3 separate regions of the Homo sapiens genome follow, and regions 1 and 3 are each linked to region 2. Evidence: promoter capture Hi-C in 16 types of primary human blood cells and fetal thymus (Javierre and others, 2016). All regions are on one chromosome and are shown on one strand. The core of a region is centred on a gene start or on the middle of the fragment in contact, and the rest is flanking DNA. Distances in the headings are between cores, read along the strand shown. Region 1 has its middle 91 kb from the start of MSN. Region 2 holds the start of VSIG4 (V-set and immunoglobulin domain containing 4). Region 3 overlaps MSN (moesin).

The links. The method cuts DNA at HindIII sites, captures the fragments that hold promoters and counts their contacts. A CHiCAGO score of 5 or more calls a contact.
Region 1: a contact is called between a fragment that was not itself captured here and the fragment with the promoter of VSIG4 in region 2, in 6 of 17 cell types (neutrophils, M0 macrophages, naive B cells and 3 more). The highest score is 11.0, in neutrophils.
Region 3: a contact is called between a fragment that was not itself captured here and the fragment with the promoter of VSIG4 in region 2, in 10 of 17 cell types (activated CD4 T cells, M0 macrophages, non-activated CD4 T cells and 7 more). The highest score is 8.0, in activated CD4 T cells.

Annotation. Positions count from the first base shown.
Region 1 is chrX:65,757,065-65,760,369 of GRCh38, reverse strand. No RefSeq gene overlaps it. Among named protein-coding and RNA genes, the nearest start is that of MSN, 91 kb to the right of the region's middle. The HindIII fragment of the contact is 6,653 bases long and covers 1-3,305 here.
Region 2 is chrX:66,038,404-66,041,483 of GRCh38, reverse strand. It overlaps VSIG4 (V-set and immunoglobulin domain containing 4), which reads left to right and starts at 1,404. Exons shown (of 8, transcript NM_007268.3): 1 at 1,404-1,540. The coding sequence starts at 1,486. The HindIII fragment of the contact is 1,000 bases long and covers 908-1,907 here.
Region 3 is chrX:65,716,929-65,720,186 of GRCh38, reverse strand. All of the region lies in intron 2 of MSN (moesin), which reads right to left. Among named protein-coding and RNA genes, the nearest start is that of MSN, 51 kb to the right of the region's middle. The HindIII fragment of the contact is 4,651 bases long and covers 1-3,258 here.

The DNA.
Region 1 (3,305 bases), core at 659-3,158, 280 kb after region 2:
AGTGAACTGGCAACCTACAGAATGGAAGAAAATTTTTGCAATCTATCCATGTGACAAAGGGCTAATATCCAGAATCAACAAAGAACTTAAACTTACAAGAAAAAAATCATACAACCTCATCAAAAAGTGGGCAAAGGATATGAACAGACACTTCTCAAAAGAAGACATTTGTGCAGCCAAGAAACATATGAAAAAAGGCTCATCATCACTGGTCATTAGTGAAATGCAAATCAAAACCACAATGAGATACCATCTCACACCAGTTAGAATGGCAATTATTAAAAAGTCAGGAAACCACAGATGCTAGAGAGGATGTGGAGAAATAGGAATGCTTTTACACTGTTGGTGGGAGTGTAAATTATTTCAACCATTGTGGAAGACAGTGTGGTGATTCCTCAAAGATCTAGAACCAGAAATACCATTTGACCCAGCAATCCCATTACTGGACATATACCCAAAGGATTATAAATCATTTTACTATAAAGACATATGCACACGTATGTTTATTGCAGCACTATTCACAATAGCAAAGACTTGGAACCAACCCAAATGCCCATCAATGACAGACTGGATAAAGAAAATGTGGCACATATACACTATGGAATACTATGCAGCCATAAAAAAGGATGAGTTCTTGCTGTTTGCAGGGACATGGATGAAGCTGGAAACCATCATTCTCAGCAAACTAACACAGGAACAGAAAAGCAAACACCACATGTTCTCACTTATAAGTGGGAGTTGAACAATGAGAACACATGGACACAGGGATGGGAATATCACACACTGGGGCCTGTCAGGAGGTGGGGGGCTAGGGGAGGGATAGCACTAGGAGAAATACCTAATGTAGATGACAGGTTGATGGGTGCAGCAAACCACCATGGCAAGTGCATACCTATGTAACAAACCTGCACCTTCTGCACCTATATCTTAGAACTTAAAGTACAATAAAAAAAGAGTCCATAGTAGTCCCATTCTACCCAGAGAAATCATTTTTCCAGCCAATCTGCCTAACAAAAAGTAATAAAAGAAATGCATGAGCCCCAAATTCTCCAGCTTGTTGGTGGCTTGCTTCATAATAATAATGATAATTTGATTTAGTATGTATCTTCCTGCTCCTATGCTGTCAGACGTCCCTTCTCTTCTTTGGTGGCTCAGTGCCACTAAATACATTTTGAACACTTATTTGTTTAGACCTGCTGGGGATCACATTTTGTTTTGTTGAGCAGATCTTTCCCTGTGCTGCTTTCCCTGAGTTGAGAGCCAGCCAACAAATTTGAAGCCCCCTCACCATCTGTTCCAATTTTTATATCTGCGTTGTTGGGCATCAATGAAAAGGCGAAAGTGCCACTGTGCCCCCAGGGACAGGGTAACAGTGGAATCACCTGGATGCTGCCTGATCTTATGCCAGACAACAGAAAGCACTTAGGCCACGTAGTTTTCACCCCAAATAAGAGCTTCAATTCAGAAGCATTGAACACATAAGGGTTCTGACATTGTCTGTAGATAATAAAGTAGTATTAGAGATTGTTGGGGGTGGGGACTGACTGGATAACTTTGAGGATTCTAGGCCTTTGGGTCTGTTTCATGTATGCTTGGTGTCAGCTTCTGCTACCTTTCTTTTTGAGTCACCGATGCCCATCCACCTTCCCAACCTGCTGTCTCATTCTTTTGAAATTATCCTAACCACTAAACCACCATGGACAATTCTTTTTTTAACAAAGCATGTTTTTTATTGTGGTAAATTATACATAGCATAAAATTTACCATTTTGAATGTACAATTCAGTGACTTTAAGTGCATTCACAATGTTGTGTAATCATCACCACTCTATTTCCAGAACTTTTTCATGATCTCAAACAGAAATTCTAATCAGTAAGCAATAACTCTCCATCCACATTCCCCATCCTCTGATAACCTTTTTTCTACTTTTTGTCTCTATTAATTAACCTATTCTAGATATTTCATATAAGAGGACTCATACAATATTTTCATTTGTGTCTTGCTTACTGTTTTTTAAGGCTCATCCATGTTATAGCATGTTTCAGAACTTCATTCATTCTTAAGGTTGAATAATATTCCATTATATGTATGTATCACATTTTGTTTATCTATTCGATTGTTGATGAACTCATGGGTTGTTTTCACCTTTTAAGGATTGTGAGTAATGCTGCCATGAACACTGGTGTACATGTCCCATTCTTGAACAAATCCCAACCTAGCCTTAAGGTAGGTCAGTGACCTCATACAGTAGGATTGTGACTTAGTTTAGACATGTTATTGGGGTGAGTTCTGAGCAACTTAAAAGCATGTGAGTAACAACTACCTTCTCTCCTTCGGTCCATACTAACCTTCTCCCTCAGTATCGGTTAAAACTAAAATAATTACCTAAATAATTCAGAAATTCCACTCCTAGAAATAGACCCAAAAAAATGAGTGTACAGGACCATTAAAATACCTATATCAGAATATTCCCAGTAGCTTTATCCATAATAGGCAAAAACTGGAGCCAGCCCAAACGTCCATCAAAAGGAGACTATTCCAGGTCACTGGAATACAACTTGGCATACTGTAACATGGATGAATCTCACAGATATTATGTTGAGGAAAAGAAGCCAAACACAAAAGAGGACATACTGTATATAAAGTTTATACAAAGTTTATATACAAACATACTATATATAAACTTTATATAACCTCTTTATAGTTTAACATATTGTATATAAACATTATATAAACTTAATATAAAGTTTATATACAAACTTACTGTATATAAACTTTTAATACAAAGTTTATATACAAACTTACTGTATATAAACTTTATATAACCTTTATATGAAGTTCAAAAAAGGCAAAACAAATCTATGATGACAGAGGTCATCAATTGCTACCTCTTGGGGGAAGGCATTGATGGGAGAGTCATGGAGAAGTTTGGCAGTTTTTTACAAAACTAAACATACTCTTACCATACAATTCAGGAATCATACTTCTTGGTATTTAGCCAAATGAGTAAAAACTTATGTCTGTGCAGAAAAAGGTACACAGATGTTTATAGCAGCTTTATTCATAATTGCCAAAACTTAGAAGCAACCAAGATATCCCTTCAATAGGTAAATGAATAAATAAACTGTGGTACAACCACATAATAGAATATTATTCAGAGGCAAAAAGAAATGAGCTATCAAGCAATGAAAAAACATGGAGGGACCTTAAATGCATATTACTAAGTGAAAGAAACCAACCAAAAAAGGTCACGTACTATACAATTCCAACTATATGACATTCTAGAAAAAACAAAACTACAGAAA
Region 2 (3,080 bases), core at 155-2,654:
TGTGTGTGTGTGTGTGTGTCTGTGCGGTGGTGGTGGTGTAGTGGTGATAGGGTGTTGGTTGAAAAATATCAAAGGAGGGTTCTGTGAAGTTCAGGGTTTCCTGAGTGAGGACCCGGTGGGAAAAAATGGCTGAAATTTCCAGTGAGATGGAATGAGTGCAGTACTCAAAAAACAAGGAACAACCAGCCAAGGGGGATTGGGCCCTAGAGGCAGAGGTGATTGATAGAATTCCATGTAATAATGTGTCCTGAAATGCTGGAATGTCTCCTTAGCCCGTGCACAGCTCCAAATCATCTGCATGCAGCCACCCCTTGGCAAGTATGTTTCTTTATATTCCCACTCCCCATCTCTGCACAAACTCCTCCCTCCCCTGACCAAGTCCTTTCCTATCCCTCCAATCAAAGAGTAAACTAAGCTTAGCTGTTACTTACAGTGCAGTATGAATTTTTGGGATGTATTTGTGCTTTTGAAAGTGCTTATTGTTTCAAAGCTTAGTAGACAAAGCGCAGTGCCAAACCTAGTTAGACTGCTGATGAAATTACAGTCACTCTGGGGCCTGTGAAGAGGAGCAATTTCTGGAGCAGTTGAGCTTTGCTAGGAGGCATAATATTACTCTCTTGTAGGTCAAGGGCCTGTACCAATTGGAAGTCAATGAAAAATTCAACCTAATACAGCATACCACTAATGGGCTGCTGCACTGGAGGCTAGGCTTAAATTTCCCTTAAAAGAAGTAAAAAATAAATTCCTTATGAAAAAGCATGGAGAACATTAATGAAAATGAATTCTCCCTTACCATCAGAGAGGTGGAGCCATTGTAGAAAGTGATTCAAAGAGCTTCCCCAATATGAGATATGAGGCATATTCACCCATAACAGCCTTATCCATTGGCTTGTCAATTATTCAAGCTTTGATGTGTAGAAAGCCCTTTAATACACTAAACTCTTGTACTCTTAAGCCCAAAAGCACCCCGGGCCCAACACCCTGTCCAGTTGCATAGGCTGCACAGGCAAGGGTTAACAGTACAACTAATGAAAATTGGGTAGGTCAGCAAAGTTGATCTCTTCTCCCTGGGCTCACCACAAAGGAAAACACCGCCATACTGGAGTGGGAAGACTCATCCCAAAGGTCGCCCCCACAACCTCTGAATCTTGTGGAGGAGACTCAAAATAAATACAGCCTAGGAGATCAAAGACCAGAAAGCCCCATTGGCTCCAAGGAAAGTCAAGTCAATACCCTAGCAGGGGGAAGAATTGCTTCACTCATCCTGGAACCTCCAACCCCAAGGAGGTGGGGGAAGGGGGGCACCCCACATGACCTGTACTGAAATAGGGAAGGAAGGGGAATGTGTGATGGGACTAGGAGTTTGAGTGAGAGATATAGGGAAGGAAGGGAAGTAAGCAGTCACAGACGCTGGCGGCCACCAGAAGTTTGAGCCTCTTTGGTAGCAGGAGGCTGGAAGAAAGGACAGAAGTAGCTCTGGCTGTGATGGGGATCTTACTGGGCCTGCTACTCCTGGGGCACCTAACAGTGGACACTTATGGTAAGGCAGAAAGGGGGGCCTGGCTGCCATTGCTGGCTTAGGCAAAAGGCTAGAGGGTTGGTGTTTAATGTCTACTATGGAAAGCCTATTCCTACTGGGCAGGTGAGTCTTCTCAGCCAAACTCTGCAGGCTCTCTCAGCCTTGAGCAAAACGGATGGATGTAGTTGAAGGCTGCTGAAGAAGCCAGAAGGCAAGTTTGGGCAGAAATTGAAAAAGGATTTTTCTCTTGGAAAACATCTGCATTATTTTCTAGGGCTTGTATCTCAGGGGCATCAAGAAGGTTCCCAATGACATCCGAATCTTTCCTCCATCTGCTGTCTCTCATCTAAAATTCTACAATTGGACTTAACCACTCTGCTTCCAAGCTTTGGTCTCTGTTAAAATATACAGCCCCCGAAGAAGGAGTGTTTTCTAAGAGTTGGATAGGACTATAGAAGTAACCTATACCACCCTTCATTGTCATGAATAAGTGCTCAGAAACATCCAGTAGTGATTGAGATTTCACTGTTCACTACCTCCCCAGACCATCTAGTCCATCCAGGAGCAGCTCCAACTGTTAGAAAGTTCTTATTTGTGTTGAACTAAATCCAGTTCCCTCTGACTTCCATCCAAAAACCCCAGCTTTGCTTCTTGGGGCTACACAGAACATAGATGCTTCCTTGCCCTGTGATAGCCCTTCAAAGCCCTGAGGACAAGTACTATGTCTCCTTGACTCTTCTCTCCTCCAAGCTGAACAGCCCCAGCTTTTTCAACTGGTCTTCATAGGACTTGGTTTCTTACCCATTCCTGGGATAACTCACTTCCCTATAGACATGGCTCAATTTGTCTGGGCTATTTATGGGCTGGATACAAATCCCAAAGGAGGATGGACTATTCCATAGTGGCATTATTTCCTTGGAGCTTGGGAAGCTCTATCCTCATCTACACTCCTGAGAAGTGAGATGGATTTTCAGGAAACTCAACCTGGGTAACAGCTAAGTGAGATCCAATATAGGGTAAAGGGGGATTTTGCTGCTTCCCTATCATCCCTAGAGAAAAAGGCTGGATAGGTGTTAGCTTGGTGTCACTTGTTAGGTCAGAAAGAATCCAGCTTTCCGTAGCTGACTCTGATTAGGTTACCCTATCCTGGGGCTCTGTGACCCATCACACTCTGGAACCTCAGAGTTAGAAAAGACTCTGAATTAAGTCAACCAAGAGAAAAAATAATTTGCCCCCAAGCCAAAGAGCATTAGTGGCAGAGTTAATGCTCCTGAAAAAACATTTTTCTTTCTATAACTACCACATTTCCATTCTCTAGCAGGTTTTATAATGTATCTCTCTACCTTCTCCAAGTCTGTTGGTTTGAGCTAGGGCTTAAGCCTGGGGCTTGAGGGAGCATTTTAGAAATGTTAAATTTAAATCCTTTGTTTGTGTGTGTGTATGTGTGTGTGCATTCATGTGTGTGTGTGTGTGTGTGTGTGTGAGAGAGAGAGAGAGCACTCATGTGTCTTGTTCCTTCCCCAGCCTATGAGCTTTTCCAGACCTGGAAGCAGGCCTTCCA
Region 3 (3,258 bases), core at 558-3,057, 320 kb after region 2:
GCAGGAGCATTGTGAGGATTAAAGCGCCTAGCCAGGAATAGGCCATAGTATGTGCTCAATAAATGATACTTCTCAAGATAACAATGATGAGAAGTCATGGACTTCTTGGTTTCCAAGTCTCCCAAAGGCTTTGTTTTGGAAGCAGTAGCATTCAGAACTAGCATACCAATCTGCCCAGGGTTCCCTACTATCTGGGGTTCCCTACTATCTGGACTTCCCTCAAATCCACACCCACAGCACACAAACCAAACCAACACTAACAAAAAACTACCAGGCATTGAGGTTTTTTGAAGTTAATAAACCTCTTTGTTCAAGAATTTTTCTGCCCCCACTAGGCTCCAAATCATGCCTTCCTCATCCTCCACAGCCATCCCCCTGCAATGCACATATACAAAGCCCCCAGTGTTGAGGGTAGAGGATGGCGTCATCTGGTTTGGGATGGGGAATTAGTAGAATCAGGGCTCTTGGAAGGAGTATAGGTAAATGTCAAAGGAGCCTCTGGCTCCCAGCTGGTCTGTAAAATCTGCACTGACTAACCGCTTCCCTCTCTAATAGCTGCTACCCAGAATGATACTGCTGTCTAAAGCAAAGGGCCCAAAAGCCTATGTGTTCTATGGACACTTCCTCCCTTTTGTCTTAGAGACAGTAAAAAGCCTGTCAAGGAAGAGATGATCCCCCTGCCAGCTAGCCCTACCTCCTCACATATGCCAGCAGCTGATCATACTCAGGTGAGGCATTTCTCTCCTTTTTACAGAAAAGGATTGTCTGAAATCCCAATACTAGGAACAGAAATGGGAGAGAAAGAGAGATGGAATGCACAAATAAATGCCAGAGATAAATTTTCTGAGAGATAACCAGATTTGAGAAACAAGTTAGGCATTGTACAGATGAGAAACTGAGGCCCAAATAAGGGAAACGTTTGTATCACAGCGAATTAGTGATAGAGCCAACCCTACAGCCCAAGATTCATGACTTTCTATCCAGGCCCTTTTGACTTCACTAGGCTGTCCCTTTAAAAGTTCTCCAATATAACCTCCATGTGAAGAGAGAATGCAAAGCACAATTATAATTAGAATGCATTTAGTCATTCCAGACTAGCACCATAATCACTTGTGAGCTATGTGAATGTAAGCACATCACTTTAATTGTAGTAAACTTGTATTTAAATATTCCTCAGACTAATTTGTATTTTCACCAATTAAGTATCAATGATTACACTTTGCCATTCAAAGTAAAACAAACACAAAACAAACTCCAGAGAAGTAAGTTCCACCTAAATCTGAAGTTAGATATTCTGAGGATCATTAAGCCCATCTCCCAATTCTCCCAATTCTAGATTATTTTTCTTTACTTTTTTTTTTTTTTTTTAGAGACAGAGTCTTGCTCTGTCACCTAGGCTGGAGTACAGTGGCGTGATCATAGCTCACTGTAACCTTGAACTCCTGGGCTTGAGCAACCCTCCTGGCACAATCTCCTGAGTAGCTGGGACTATAGGTGTGCACCACCATGCCATGCTAATTTTTAAATTTTTTGTAGAGACAGGGTCTCGCTGTGTTACCCAGGCTGGTCTCGAGCCCCTGGGCTCAAGCAATCCTCCCATCTCAGTGTTAGGATTACAGACATGAGCCACCACATCACGTCAACTCCAGCTCAATTAATAATACAAGAAGCACAATGGTATTGGAAAGGGAGCTATCATTTATTACTTCTCTACCATATGCTGGATGCTTTCTTCCAGCTAACACTTTCTTTCCTATTTGTGTTTTCTTATCTTTCTCACCTATTTCGAATTTATCTTTTTGGATTGGACATCCTTATATGCCACTATAATCAGATTTTTGAGTAACAGGTAAGATACAAAACATAACACACTCACAAAAATCCTGTGAGGTAAGTATTAGATATTTCTCGGGGGGAGGGGATGAAGATACCAACCCAGAGAGTTCAATAATTTTCCCAGGGTCTAACTAGGAAAATGAGGATTTTGTGTCCTCATCTGTAAAACATGCCCATACTAATTCATGCACTCACAGAGCTTTGTGATAGTCAAATGCTTATCATAATACTTAGCATACACTGAGTCCTGGATAAATGTTAACTCTCATCTGTATTAGCCACAGACAATAATTTTCCCACTCTATGTAATAAGAACTCAGAAGGTGTACCCAAGCTGTCCTCAAATTTCTAGCCCTCTCCTACCCCTGTCTCCATTCTACTCTTGTCTTTTCTCTCACCAGTCAGAAGTATTCACAGGAATAGAATTAGCTTATTTGAACACTACCTCCTTCTTTTTTTCTTCCTCTCTCCAACCCTGGGGAAGTTCTCATATGGTAGAAGGACACAGAGAGCAAGGAAGAAAGGGAAGCAAGAGGGCCTGGAGAATCCATCAGGGTGATATGCAGCCTAACATCCTGGACAATAACTCAGACCTCCACTTCATCGGAGTCTGGTGGAGAAATAGGATAATGGCCTGTCTGGTGAGGTCCCAGCCTCTGGAAATGGGAGCCTCATTTTTGCTCCTAGAAGTCTGGCCACAGACGGCACATTCCCTTGAATGCTAAAAATGTCTGTAGCTGCCATCTGTTTATTATAGTATACAGTACATCCTTTCTGACAATAATGATTCACAATGAAGGGACACCCCTTGGGTTGGAGATGGGAATGACCTCTTCACTATGGCGAGTAAGCAATTATCTTCATGGCATGCCTGTAGGAGATGAAGCAGCCTCCTACTGCATCCATCAACTCCCATGTTGTCCTAAGTCCCAACATTCTTTTGAGAGAAATGTGCATAGAGCTTACTACCTCAGGGAGAGTAAGTTAGTTTCCTTCTACTAGGAAGCAAAAACATGGGACAGAGGCAGTGTGGTGCAGTGGCAACAATGTGGAGTGCAAATCCCAGCCAAATATCATTTGGGTGCAATTAAGTTATTTAACTTCTGAGCCTCATCATTAAAATGGAGAAGACATCACTTACATGTTTCAGAGTTAAAAGGAAGGCTCCATATGCTAAGATTTTTAAAGCATCTAGCATAGAATATACACCATTTTCTTTTCTCCCTTATTCAGGACCAAAGATAAAATTAATCAGGACCATAGGGTGCAGGCTGCCAAAGTTTAACTTTGCCTCCTTTCATATTAAGTCTGGAATCAGCCTTCATTTTGATCTATCTTGGAGTGAACAGGAAGAGAGATTCTTTGACAAGAGGCAAAAGTCATGGATTGTTGGCATTGTGGTGGAAGCTATTCAGAGAAGGA